Linked DNA regions of Homo sapiens: regions 2 and 3 are each linked to region 1. The links are contacts of gene promoters, found by promoter capture Hi-C in blood cells and fetal thymus (Javierre and others, 2016). All regions are on one chromosome and are shown on one strand. Each heading gives the region's core, a stretch centred on a gene start or on the middle of the fragment in contact. The rest is flanking DNA. Distances are from core to core; before and after follow the strand shown.

Region 1 (4,815 bases), core at 910-3,409:
TCATGAGAGAAATGCAAATCAACACTACAAGATAATGTCTCAACCCAGTTAAGATGGCATTTATCCAGAAGACAGGCAATAAGGAATGCCTGGGAGGATGCTGAGAAAAGGGAACCCTCATGATTTTTTGGTGGGAAAGTAAATTAATACAACCACTATGGATAATAGTATGGCGGTTTCTCAGAAAACTAAACATAGAGCTATCATATGATCCAGAAATGCCACTACTTAAGTATATACTCCAAAGAAAAGAAATCAGTGTATCAAAGAGATATCATTTGTATGGAATTATCCATAAAATTAAAAGCCTAGCTCCTTTCACATAGCACATGTTTTCAACGTTCATCTCTACTGTGGCCTGGACTGGGATGTTATTCCTTTCTGTGGCTGAATAATAGCCATTATATGATTATACCACACTTTGTTTATCCATTTATTTATTAATAGACATTTGGATCTGCCATTGATAGACGTTTGGATCAGGCCATGTCCAGTGGCTCACACCTGCAATCCAAGCACTTTGGGAGGTCAAGGCAGGAGAATCGCTTAAGCCCAGGAGTTCCAAGAGCAGCCTGAGAAACAAAGTGAAATCCTACTCTCTACAGAAAAATTAAAAAATACCGTTTGGCTACTGTGAACAGTGCTGCTATGCACATTTGATGTCCAAGGATTTGTTTGAATCCTTTTCCATTCTTTTGGGTGTATACCTAGGAGTGAAATTGCTGAGTCCTTTGATAATTTCTATGTTAACTTTTTGATAAACTGTCAAACCATTTTGTGTGTTTTTAAAATGCAGATCTGATTCTCCCGTAGATATCTTTCCGTAACTTGGTTTTTCACTCAGCGTCTTAGAGTGAACTCTGTGTGAGTTTATGCAGACCAAAGTTTCTCAGTCTTGGCAATGTCGACATTTTTGTGTTGACAAAATGGCTGGAGTGCCGTGGCTACTCACAGGGGCAATCATAATGCATCGTTATATATAGTAGTATATAGTCCCATTTATATGAAATGTCTAGAATAGGTAAGTCCATAGAGCCAGAGCCAGAAAACAAATTGGTGGTTTTGAAGGACTGGGTGGGGTAGGGGAGTGGCTGCTAATGGGTATTAGGTGATGAAAACATTTTGGAACTAGACAGAGGCGGCGGCCACACAACATTGTGAATGCATTCAATCCCAGGGAATTGTATACTTTAAAGTGGTTGATTATTTTATGTGAATTTCACCTCAAAAGCAGAACGAAGCGAAAGCAACAATAATGCACAACAGAACTCTGATTTTATGGGTTTGCATTGTTTTCACATCCTACATGCTCATGAAGATCTGAAGGGATACCCATTAAATTCACCGTCACGATTGCCTGGCTGGCCATTGCATGGTTTGCTGCTTTGTATGTAGCATTTCAATTACATAATAAGAAGAAACAGGCCAGGCATGGTGGCTCACAGCTGTAATCCCAGCACTTTGAGAGGTCAAGGTGGGAGGATCCCTTGAGCCAAGGAGCTCAAGACCAGCCTGGGCAACAAAGCGAGACCCCATCTCTACAGAAAAATTAAAACTTAGCCCAGGTGTGGTGGCAAGCACCTTTACTCCCAGCTGCTCAGGAGGCTGAGGCAGGAGAATCATTTGAGCCTGGGAGGTTGAGGCTGCAGTGAGCCATAATCACACCACTGCACTCCAGCCTGGGCAACAGAGCTAGACCCTGTCTCAAAAAATAAAAATAAAAACAAATACGTGTGTGTGTGTTGGTTTTAAAAAATTATTTTAAAGGACATTTAGTTGGGCAAATGACCCAGTTGGAGAAGAATGAAGGTGACGGGGCATATCAAGGCAGCCTCTGCAGTCCCTGGGGGCAATGGCAGGGCTGCCCTCCTGTCAATTTCAACAGTCATGGGCCCAAACCCCAAATCTGTAGAGCACTAGACTCTGCTCAAGCTCTTGACAAGCTCAGGGAATTGACTCACCCCTGGCAGGCGGGGGGAATGGGAAAGTGAGGATACAGATTCCCTGAGGTTGCCTCCTCTCTGGCAGGGTCCCTGGGGTCCCAGCATCCCTGTAGCGGAGACAGAGACAGTAGGACCACAGCGAGGGAAGCCGGTGGGCAGGGAGTCAGGGAGGGATAAATAATCGCATTTGGGCTCAGTCAAGCCCCCGGCTCAGCTGGTGTGGCTGCTTGGTGCAGCCCACACCTGGTCAGCTCCCACCTGTGGAGAAACTCCAAACTAGAGCCTCCTACTGGGATGAAGCAGAAGCAGATGCCTGGAGTCCCAGGTGAGTCACCTCCCCTCTCAGCCACCTGACCAGGAGAGACCTGGGGAACCAGCACCTGCCAGGGACTCCAAGAAACCACCTGTTTATATTACTCCTTTAGCAATGTGAGTCTACAGGGCAGTGGGTGACAGGCAGAGGCCACTCACCACGTCTTAGTCAGTGTGCTGTTTGCTTAGCAGGACTTACCTTCTTCTATTTTTTTTTTTTTTTTTTTGAGACGGAATCTCGCTCTGTAGCCCAGGCTGGAGTGCAGTGGCGCAATCTCGGCTCACTGCAACCTCCGCCTGCCAGGTTCAAGCGATTCTTCTCCCTCAGCCTCCTGAGTAGCTGGGACTACAGGTGCGTGCCACCATGCCTGGCTAATTTTTTGTATTTTTAGTAGAGACAGGGGTTTCACCATGCTGGACAGGCTGGTCTTGAACTCCTGATCTCGTGATCCACCCGCCTCGGCTTCCCAAAGTACTGGGATTACAGGCATGAGCCATCGTGCCCAGCCAGGACTTGCCTTCTTTAGAGCTCCTGCTGCCTCATGAGGTAGGTCCCTTGGATGGGGGAGGTAACAGGTGCAGAGAGAAGACAGCCAATGCTCAATGTGACCCAAGGTGATGGTTTGATTTTAACCTCTCTTCTCGGTCTGTCCAGGCAAGAAGTCTACGGAAAAAGGATTGGGAAGAGGCGGAGAAAAGAGAGAAAGAGGATTCAGGGTTCAGAAGCTCCAGCCACCACCCCAGGGTGTAAAGAATCAGGGTGGGCCGGGTGCAGTGGCTCATGCCTGCAATCCCAGCACTTTGGGAGGCCAAGGTGGGAGGATCACTTGAGTCCAAGAGTTTGAGGCCAGCCTGGGCAGCATAGTGAGACCCTGTCTGTACAAAAAAATACAAAAATTGGCCAGGAATGGCAGGCACCTGTAGCTACTCCAGAGATTGAGGTGGGAGGATTGCTTGAGCCCAGGAAGTTAAGGCTGCAGTGAGCTGTGATTGTGCCTCTGCACTCCAGCCTGGGTGACAGAGGGATACCCTGTCTCTCTCTCTCTCTCTCTCTCTCTCTCTCTCTCTCTCTCTCTCTCTCTCTCTCACACACACACACACACACACACACACACACACACAAGGGAGGCGTCAATGGGAGCAGGTGGTGAGGGAATGGTTAGGAGCTGGGGATGAGAAGATGGAGAGAAAAGAGAGGGAAGTGGTGGCTTAAGTGGAAGAGAGGGGAGGCCAGACAGCTTCACTAAGAAGAGAGAGCCAGGATGGGTGAGAGTTAAGGCCAGATGGGGTCTCAGAGACAAGACAGGCCTGGCCCATGGAGTGATGCTGTCACCCAGGAGACACGTGACAACGTATAAGGACATTTCTGATTGTCGTGACTGGGGAGTGCTGCTGGTATCTATCTGGTGGGTGGAGACCAAGAATGCTGCTCAGTCTCCTGCAGTGCACAGGACACCCCTCTGAGAGAGAATGATTCGCCCCTAGCGTCCCTAATGCTGAAGGCAGGAAACCCTGCTCTAGGGATGTCTGTGGCAGGACTTGTCCACAGCCACGCTTAGCCCTAGAGTCTCTGAGTGGAGAACTGGCCCCACCGGGTGTTCCTGTCAGTGCTAGACAGTGGGCTTGCTTGCTCTCTCTCTTTCTTCTCACCTTTTTCTTCTCTTTCCCCTCTGTCCTCTCTTTCTCCCTACCTCTCTTTCCTCTCTCTGTTTCTCTTCCCACCTCCCTCTCTCTCCACTTCTCTCTCTCTCCCCACCCTTCTCTCTGTCTCTCTCTCTCTTTCCCCAACCCTCTCTCTCCCCACCTCCCACACTCTCTGTGTCTCTCTCCCCACTTCTCTCTCCCCACCTCTCTCTGTGTCTTTCTCCCTGTCCTTCTCTCTCTCTCTCCCCCCACCTCCCACTCTCTATCTCCCCACTTCTCTCTCTCCCTCCATCTCTCTCTCTCTCTGTGTGTGCTCTTTCCCCACATCTCTCTGTGTCTCCACCTCTCTGTCTCTCTCTTTCTCTCTCCCCACCTCTCTTTCTTTCTCTCCCCACCTCTCTCTCTCTGTTTCTCCCTCGCCTCCTCTCTCTCTCTCTCTCTCTCTCTCTTCCCCTGCCTCTCTCTCTATCCCCATCTCTCTCTTTCTCTTCCTACCTTTCTCTCTCTCTGTTTTACCTACAGAGGAACCCACTGGATGTTCTGCTGGTGAATCAATGCCCAGAAGCTCTAAATCCTCCTCGCTGCTATCCTAGTCCCACATCCACCATGGGTTTGGTTTTGTTTTACTTTTTAAAATTAATAGACTTTATTTTAAGAGCAGTTTCAGATTTACAGAACATAGAGCAGATAGATACTGCAGAGAATCTCCATATACCCTCTCTCCGCCTGCACACAATTTCCCCTATAATTAGCAACTGGGATTTTTTTTTTTTTTTACCATTAATCTGTTACAACTGATGAACCAGTGTTGACACATTGTCATTGACTGAAATCCACAGTTACATTAGAGTTCACTCTTGGGGCTGTACATTCTCTGGGTTTTGACAAATGCACAATGTCCTGTATCTACCATGAC
Region 2 (4,815 bases), core at 1,465-3,964, 910 kb after region 1:
TCCTGGAACATGGTCAGCATACAATCAATATTACACAAGTGCGTAGAAGAATTTCTCATTAAAGAATATACAACCTCTTAGGGAAAGGTTGAGAATAGCACAAGAATTTTCAATCAGAGACAGCTCTGAGGAGCACAGAAACTGGGAAAAGTTCCATACACAAAATATAGAAATTAATGTCTTGGCTGCAAAATATAACTGGTTGTCTTTCAACAATGTGAGTGATGCCCTTTTGAGTAAAAATTGGTCATGTTCTCTTTCTCTGACTGGTAGTCACCTCAACCACATGGAACCAGAGAATGGTACGAGGATTTTAGGATTTCTTCTTCTGGGACTTTCAGAGGAACCAGAATTGCAGCCCGTTATGTTTGGACTCTTCCTCTCCATGTATCTGACAACTGTGTTTGGAAACCTGCTCATCATCCTGGCCATCTGCTCTGGTTCCCACCTCCACACCCCCATGTACTTCTTCCTCTCTAACCTGTCCTTTGTAGACATCTGTGTTACCTCCACCACAGTCCCAAAGACACTGTCAAACATCCGGACACAGAGTAAAGTCATCACCTATGCAGGTTGCATCACCCAGATGTACTTTTTTGTACTCTTTATAGTGTTGGACAGCTTACTCTTGACCGTGATGGCCTATGACCAGTTTGTGGCCATCTGTCACCCCCTGCACTACACGGTCATCGTGAACCCTCGGCTCTGTGGACTGCTGGTTCTGGCGTCCTGGATCATGAGTGCCCTGAATTCCTTGATAGAAAGCTTAATGGTGTTGCCACTGCTCTTTTGTACAGACTTGAAAATCCCCCACTTTTTCTGTGAACTTAATCAGATAATCCGCAGTGCCTGTTCTGACACCTTTCTTAATGACATGGTGATGTATTTGTCAGCTGTGCTTCTAGGTAGGGGATGTTTCACTGGGATCCTGTACTCTTACTTTAAGACAGTTTCCTCCATACGTGCAATCTCATCAGCTCAGGGGAAGTACAAGGCATTTTCCACCTGTGCATCGCACCTCTCAGTTGTCTCCTTATTTTATTGTATGAGCCTTGGGGTGTACCTTAGTGCTGCTGCAACCCACAACTCACTCTCAAGTGCAACAGCCTCTGATGTACACTGTGGTCACCCCCATGCTGAACCCCTTCATCTACAGTCTGAGGAATAAAGACATAAAGGGGGCTCTAAAACAATTCTTCAGAAGGAAGAAATAAAATGAGCATCTTTCAAGAAGTACATGTGATTTCAAAGCTCTAACCGAACTCAAACATTGTGATTCACGAATCAGATCATGGAAGGAGGGAAAGAGAATGTTCTGCTTCTATTCAGTTTCTAGAGTTTTAATTTCCTTGTTCTCAAGTGCTGTGTCAGACTTATGCTATTTCTTTAGAAAGCTTTCTGCTCTGATATCCAACTTACTTTTTGTTTGTCATTTTCCTAATTTCCCATAGTTATTTCCAAACTAGGGTAAAACACTTTTGGAGATTCCTATTTGTCTAATACACTAGAGAGTTGTATCAGTCCTAAAAAATCAATTGCACTTGGCAAATGTAAGGTCATTGGTATAATCATATTATAGATGAATATCTGAGATCACAGTTTTTTACTTCTGAGTCCTTCATTTCTTACTACCTTTACTGTTCTTCCTGATTATGTAAACTTGACCATGCTGGTGTGTTTATAATCATCATGGCATTTTATTCTCCTCATTAGGATCCTGTCTGCTATCCAGCTCAGTGTCTACACTGCCTACTATATTCCCTGGTAAAGAGGAGGAAGGCGAATATTACTTATAACATACATGTTCCTAGTGTAGTCTACACAGAAAGACACATTTGCATGAATCAATTGACTTCATATGGCCTCAGATTCAGAGACGACCTTAAATATGATGGACTAAAATTTTCAGTCATGCAGTGATTATCGTGGAAGATTTGTTTTTGATGGTGTGTGATATGGTTTGTCTGTGTCTCCACCCAAATCTCACCTTGATTGTAGCTCCCATAATTTCCTTGTGTCATGGGAGGGACCCGGTGGGAGGTAATTGAATCATTGGGGCAGGTCTTTCCCATGCTGTTCACATGGCAGTGAATAAGTCTCATGAGATCTGATGGTTTTATAAAGGGGAGTTCCCCTGCATATGCTCTCTTGCCCGCCGCCATGCAAGACATGCCTTTGGCCTTCTGCTGTGATTGTGAGGCCTCCCCAGCCACGTGGAACTGTGAGTCCATTAAACTTCTTTTTCTTTATAAATTACCCAGTCTTGGGTATGTCTTTATCAGCAGTGTGAAAACGGACTAATACAACTCATTAAAGGGTGGAAGCTTGTTGTCCATGGGTAATGAGGTTTGTTCATTTAGGTAAAGGATTTGGTGTCATGATCTACATTATTTGATTGCATCATCTTTCTGTTTCTGATTAAAAGTTTCCAGTGCTACAAATATGACTTCTTGCATTGTTCTAAAACTATCACTCCCTTTAATAAATTATGTCACAAGCATTAAACTGGAGGTAAGTGAAGGATATGTGTATTTACTGTATCATCACTTGCTTTATCTCTTTTATACTCCAAACTCTCTAATGATGACTCACATAAGAGCTTGAATTTCTTCCCAGTATTGCATGTGAGATTAGAGACTTGAGATTCCAGGTTGCAATTTGTTTCAGCAAAAATATACATGTCCTGCCAAACTCTTCTGGTTACCTAGAGGAAATCTAAAAGTAGTCATCCTATGATACAGTTATGTGAAGTAAATATAAATATCCATATAATTATGAACACTGCTTTCTGATATCAGAAAAAGCACCAAAAAAAAAGAGCCAACAGAATATTCTGTATACAGTGAATCCAATAAAAAACTAAAAAACAAAAGGATCTGACACCTAAAAAAAGATAATTCTGAATATCTTTAGTTATGTTGCTTTGATTATTGTATCAGTAATCTAATGTTGTGTAACAAAACATCCCAATAATAAATGATTTAAAGTCATGCTTTTAAAAAATCACATCAGAGTCTACATTGTGGAAGTTTTCTCATTGGGGATTAGGACATATATATCCTGGACAAGACAAAAATATTCAGCCATAGGACTATCCAAGCTTAATTAGCTCTTGAATGTTGGGCAGTAAGGACAATCTTTTTTTAACTTTTATTTTAGGTTCAGGGGTACATGTGCAGGTTTGCTATATAAGCCAACTGTTTGTTGTGAGGGTTTGGTGTACAGAGTATTTTGTCACCCGCTTAATAAGCATACCTGATACATAGTTTTTTTTATCCTAACCCTCCTACCACCCTCAACACTCAAGGAGGCCCCAGTATCTGTTGTTCCCCTCTTTGTGTCCATGTGTTCTCATTATTTAGCTCCCACTTGTAAATGAGAATATGTGGTATTTGGTTTTCTGTTCCTACGTTAGTTTGCTAAGAATTATGGCCTCCAGCTCCAACCACGTTGTTGCAAAGGACACAGTCTCATTCTTTTTGATGACTCTGTAGTATTCTATGTTGTATAGTACCACATCTTCTTTATTCGGTCTACTATTGATGGACATTCAGGTTGATTCCATGTCTTTGCTATTGTGAATAGTGCTGTGATGAACATATGTATGCATATGTCTTTATAGTAGAATGATTTACATTCCTTTGGGTATATATCCAATAATAGAATTTCTGAGTGAAGTGGTAATCCTGTTTTAAGGTCTTTGAGAACTGTGAAACTGCTTTCCACAATGGCTGAACTAATCTACATTCCCAAAAGCAGTGTGGAAGTATTTCCTTTTCTCCAGACTCTCACCAGCATTTGTTATTATTGGACTTTTAAATAATAGAGCAAGGACAATTTGAAAGAGGAAGAGCAACAGAAGTGGTGTCATCTCACAATGCCTCTTACAGCTTCTTCTCACAGATTGAACATCTCATGACCACTCACATCCTATCAGACAAAGAATGTCTCAATCATCGTAGGTGTTACACTTCTCCCAGTTGAGGCATCATCAAAATCCAGAGCCAAAGGTGGAGAAGACTGATCCTCCTAAAGGCAACATAGAAAGGCAACACAAAAATACAGAAAGAGGTGTCTAATTATCTAAGAGTTAATAAATAAGTGGAAAATAATTATCTACTGGGAGAAAAACAGACATGCAAGCATTTTATACTTCAGTATACATTAAATATGTATGAATTACATGCTATCACCTAGAAGCCAGGAAGATAAGATTTCCATGAAGAGTTGGAGGAGCTCCTAGAAGATTAGGTGGATAATTTGATACACTAAGAAACATCAGCTTTACAGATATTCTCAAAAGTAGAAGATAGTTAAAGAGTCAGACATATCTACTGTGAGTATTTGGAGCCAGCATGAGGGTGACAGAGACAATGATGAATGATTTTATGTCAACAAAGCATAGAATGATAGACTCTCAGGCACTCTCCTCCTTGTGCAGGGCCCTGGAAGGAGGTCTCCCTTCATGATCACAACTTGCTGTCTCCTCAAAGCAGGACAGTGCTAGACTGTAGCAAGAAACCTTTCTGGTGTCACAATGAGCAGAGTAACTGGGAAACTAGGACATGGTCCAAATATCTGCTATCCATTGAACACCTGCTCTGCGCCAAGTAACTTCCAATGGGCTTTGAAGTCTTACTCCTTCTCACCTAAACTTCATAAGGTAAGTGGAACTTCTAGAAGTTTCATTTCCTGTCATTCCGTAAGTGTTCAAGACTTACGCGTAAGTAAACTCGATTATGCAAAAGCTGAGCTACCGAGTCCAACATTTGACCTCCTAAACCAGACATGAGGAGCAGGGTAGGATTCTTGGTA
Region 3 (4,815 bases), core at 1,396-3,895, 860 kb after region 1:
CTGTAGTCCCAGCTGCTTGGGAGGCTGAGGCGGGAGGACAGATTGAGCCTGGGATGTAGAGGCTGCAGTGAGTTGTGGTTGCCTGGGTGACAGAATGAGACCCAGTCTCAAAAAAAAAAAAAAAGGGAGAGACCACTTAAAATCTACTCTCTTTGTGATTTGCAAGTACACAATACATTGTTTTTAACTATACCTACCATGTTGTCCAATAGATCTCTTGAACTTATTTCTCCTATTTAACTGAAATTTTGTACCCTTGATCAACATCTCCCCAATCTCCCTTTCCTGCGAGTCCCTGGTAACCACCATTTTACTCCCTGCTTCTGTGAGTTTGATTGTTTAGATTCCACAGATAAGTGAGATCATGTGGTATTTGTCTTTCTGTGTCTTGGTTATTTCAATTAGCATAATGTCCTCCAGGTTCATCTGTGTTGTCACAAGTGACAGGGATTTATTCATCTCCTATGCATTGGTTAGTTACTATTCATTCATTCATACCTTTCTGCAGTGATTTATTCACCCATTTACTTCCCCATGTATCTCTTCATTCACCAATTTATTCACTTATTCATTCTCATTTTTCTATCGGTTCATTCATTTTCTTATTCATCTATTCATTCTTCCATGCATCAGTTAACTCACTCATGTATTCATTCACTCGTAAATTTATTTACAAACTCATCCATGCATTAGTTAAATCATTGATGGATTCATCTGTTTATTTACTCAGTTAAGTCATTTATTCATTCTAATTCATTCTTGGACTCACTCATTCATCTATGCATTTGTTATTCTTTCATTCATTTATTCAAGTATTCTCTTCATTCACTCATTTGTTCACGTATTTGTTCACTCAGCTACTAACTTGTTTCATTTGCTTATTTCCTTACTTATTCATCCAGTTGTTAATCCCTTCCTTCCTTCCTTCCTTCCATCATTCCTTCTCTAGATTCCTTTATTACTTCAGAAATATCTTTATTCACTCAGCAGGCATTTTCCCAGGCAGACTTTGTCTTGACCTCTGGAGTACAGAGATACAGTGCACTCATACCTTGTCCTCAACAAGCTCACAAAATCTTAGGGGAGACAGACACATTGTAGATCAATATAACACAAGGTGGTAGGTTCTGTAGTAAAGGAACATTTAAAAAATGTTGGGAACTTGGAGAAGGAAGCAGTGAGTAGAGGGGTACGCAGTGAATGCTTCCTGAAGAGGGAGTCATGAAGAAGGTCACCTGTTAACTGCGTCTTGACAGGTGAGTAGGACTTCAACTGGACAGTGAGAGGGGAGACGTATTTCAGGCAGAGAGAAGAGAACATGCAAAGCTTGAAGGTACCTAAGTTGTTTGGAGAATGGTGGGGCATTCAGGAAGGTGAGAGCATGGGGTAAGTTGGGAGTGGTGGTGGAAGATATTAACAAGGCTGTCAGATCCCAAATGGGAGAAGACTTTGTACATCATCCCAAACAATTGGAAAGTTGTATAGTGTCATATGTAAAATGTTTATTTAGAAACAGAATGCTTGTTCCCCAGTGCCATAAAGAAATAGCACTCAAACATAAATTTAATTATCTCAGCAAGGCAATTTTTACTTCTGCAGAAAGGGTGTTCATCACAGATGGAACAATGGCAAGAGCACACCTGAACAAAGGAGGGAAGAAGCAATTTTTATCCCTTATGCAGTTTGTCCCTGCTACTGTGTCTGTCTCCATTGGCTGGAGCCAGACTTTACAATCTAAACTAAATCCCGACTGGCTAATAATTTAAAACTTTTCTAAATAGGTAAAAGCAATGGAAAACAGAGGAAAAGAGGAAGTTGCTTACAAAAGGACTTAGAAAAGTAATAACATTCCCAAATAAGGAAGGGGTATAGGCTGCAAGCTGGGACATGCCTGTGAGCACATCCAGCACAGATATCTTGGTTAAAGTACAAGGACGTAGAATGTACTATGTGCCTGTGAGCGTGTCTAACACCTACATAGGATAGGGCTTAACAAAGAGTTATTAGCATAAAGTAAGGAGGCTTGAAGGAAGTTAGTCTTTAAAAGAAACTATTTTTAACACTTAAGATTTATTCTTTAACAAGAAGGGAAACTTTGAAGACGAACTTTTACTTTCTTCATATAAGGAACTTGAGGCCAAGTTGAGGGCCTGGAAAAGCATCTGAAAGGAATGGGAGTGGGGAGCTTATTAAGGATAAGCAGAGAGTTAACAAGGAATAATGAAGGCTCAGCTGAATTGGGAACAATGAATTTATAGCAGTGTCATTGGCATGATTGGGTGAAATGTCCAGATGTGCCAGGTGGCTGAGTGTAGGGGGTAAGAAATCATGCACAATTAATCTTGGGCTGAGGAATTTTGCAGGGGATGAGGTGGAAGGATGGAGGTGAGGAAGTTGAGAGAGGGATTACTCAGAGTAAGCATAGAGGTGGATCTAGTCATGTTGACTTGGAGAAGACTCAGCAACTACTCCCCAGGGCTAACTCTGAGCCCAGTTTGGAGAACACAGATGTGACTGGAGAAGCCCCGTGCATCCTCATTTTTGACTCAAGCTATTGTACCACCTTCCCAAGAGGTCCCCACCTCCTCCAACACATCCACGATGAATGTGAGCCAAAGTAGATTTCAAATTTTTTTTTTTTTTTGAGATGCAGTCTGGCTCTGTCGCCCAAGCTGGAGTGCAGTGATGTGATCTCAGCTCACTGCAACCTCTGCCTCCTGGGTTCAAGTGATTCTTCTGCCTCAGCCTCCCGAGTAGCTGGGACTACAGGTGTGCACTACCACACCTGACTAATTTTTTTATTTTTAATAGAGATGGGATTTCACCATGTTGGCCAGGCTGGTCTCGAACTCCTGACCTCAAGTGATCTGCCCTCCTCGGCCTCCCAAAGTGCTGGGATTACAGGCATGAGCCACCATGCCCAGCCATAAACTTCAATTTCTAAAGAAAGAGGAGTAGCCATTGAAGCCTCGAAATGAGATGATGGTGCCAATGGCAGAAACTCACTCGATTGACCCGTGGGCTGGATTATGGGGGGAAACAGGTGAGCCCCTGATGAACTTGCTTCTTTCATCTTCTCTATTCTCCTTTTTACTCAATACTCCAGCCACATTGGTCTTCTCTCTGGTCCTCCAGCACTCCTAGTGCATGCCCATCTCAGAGTCTGCATTGTGCCTGCAATGATTTCTTCCAGATACACAGGGTACCTTCTCATCATGCAAGTCTCAGCTTAAATGTCACCTCTTCAGAAAAGCCCTCTCTGACCATCTGCTCAGAAGCAGTCCCATCCAGTGACTCTCCTTTGCTGTTATCACCACTTGAAGTTTGCAATTAGTGCATTTCTATGTGTACCTCCTGCTTTCCCCATTAGAATGTGTCTTAGTTCATGTCAGCTGCTGTAACAAAAATACCATAGACATTGTGGCTTAAAGAACAAAAATGTATTTCGCACAGCTCTGGAGGGTGGGAAGTCTAAGTTCAAGGCACCCACAGATTCCATGTCTGGTGAGGGCTGTCTTCTGGTTCATGGAAGGCGTCTTCTTGCTGTGTCTTCGAATGACAGAAGGGTGGAGGGAGCTCTCTGGTGTGTCTTTTATATGGGCACTAATTCCATTCATGATGGCTCTACCCTCATGACCTAATCACCTCCCAATACTATCCCATTGGGGGTTAGGATCTCAAGATATGAATTTGGTTGGAGTGGGGAGGGGACATAAACATTTAGTCCATAACAGAATGTAAGTGCTTTGAGGACGAGAGCCATGTGCCTGGTACTCAGTAGGTACTCAGTCAATATCTGTGGAATGAATGAATACATCGGTGATTTTGATAGGACAAGTGGTTTGAGAGGGAAATGCTTAGGCTGGTGAATGAGTGATAACAGGCACTGATAGGGAAGAGAATAGGGGCATACACATTTCAAATGTGGAACAAACAGTTGGGGGCAGAAGATAAGGGAAGCTTAGAAGGCCAGAGACAGGGAATGTCTTGGCAATGTCTAAGGAAGGAAACTGAAGGTAGTGATTATTTGGGGCAGGATTGAGAGAGCTTGAATGGGGAGTAGGTACAGGAGAGACCTGAAAGCTTGTATATCCTGGAGTTGTAGGAACTTTTCTACCATGGTGGGGAGATGTGGAAGAGCAGGAGGAGGAGGAGGTGGGCTTCATTCATGGGGCCCGGTGGCATTCATTAGTGTACGGGGAAGACTGGGATGGAGTAGGGTGCCGTATCATGGGTATTGTGTGGCTCCAGGGCCCTATATGGGCAAAGCCTTGGGGATGCCACCTTCAGACCTGCAAGGGAGGTCAGGAGGGAGCCCTGACAGGTATGTGGCTCCCTCACACAGGTATGCACCTGTGGGCATCCTGTTCCTGATTGCTGGGAAGATTCTGGAGATGGAAGACATGGCCGTCCTGGGGGGTCAGCTGGGCATGTACACCCTGACCGTCATCGTGGGCCTGTTCCTCCATGCCGGCATTGTCCTTCCCCTCATCTACTTCCTCGTCACTCACCGGAACCCCTTCCCCTTCATTGGGGGCATGCTACAAGCCCTCATCACCGCTATGGGCACGTCTTCCAGGTATGGCCTTGCTCCCCACCCCAGCACCATTCCTGGTTGCACTTCTTGTCCTTCATGTCCTCTCCTAAGGCACCTGCCCTCTCCATTCCTTAAACACCTCTTCTGAGTCGTCCAACAATGTCCAGGGCTCATAATGTCAACACCTGGGGTCCAGTCATTGTCCTGGGCTGGCTCTCCTGGTCTCCTTTTCTCCTTTCCTGTTTTTTAACTTTCTGTGGAGGAGAACCAGGTACCAG

Evidence for each region. The method cuts DNA at HindIII sites, captures the fragments that hold promoters and counts their contacts. A CHiCAGO score of 5 or more calls a contact.
Region 2: a contact is called between a fragment that was not itself captured here and the fragment with the promoter of OR10H1 in region 1, in 1 of 17 cell types (M1 macrophages). The highest score is 5.0, in M1 macrophages.
Region 3: a contact is called between a fragment that was not itself captured here and the fragment with the promoter of OR10H1 in region 1, in 1 of 17 cell types (M1 macrophages). The highest score is 5.8, in M1 macrophages.

Annotation. Positions count from the first base shown.
Region 1 is chr19:15,813,008-15,817,822 of GRCh38, reverse strand. It overlaps OR10H1 (olfactory receptor family 10 subfamily H member 1), which reads left to right and starts at 2,159. Exons shown (of 4, transcript NM_013940.4): 1 at 2,159-2,268. The HindIII fragment of the contact is 16,264 bases long and covers 1-4,815 here.
Region 2 is chr19:14,899,645-14,904,459 of GRCh38, reverse strand. It overlaps the pseudogene OR7A3P. Among named protein-coding and RNA genes, the nearest start is that of OR7A17, 16 kb to the right of the region's middle. The HindIII fragment of the contact is 776 bases long and covers 2,327-3,102 here.
Region 3 is chr19:14,956,240-14,961,054 of GRCh38, reverse strand. It overlaps SLC1A6 (solute carrier family 1 member 6), which reads left to right. Exons shown (of 10, transcript NM_005071.3): 7 at 4,346-4,579. Among named protein-coding and RNA genes, the nearest start is that of OR7C2, 17 kb to the right of the region's middle. The HindIII fragment of the contact is 2,634 bases long and covers 1,329-3,962 here.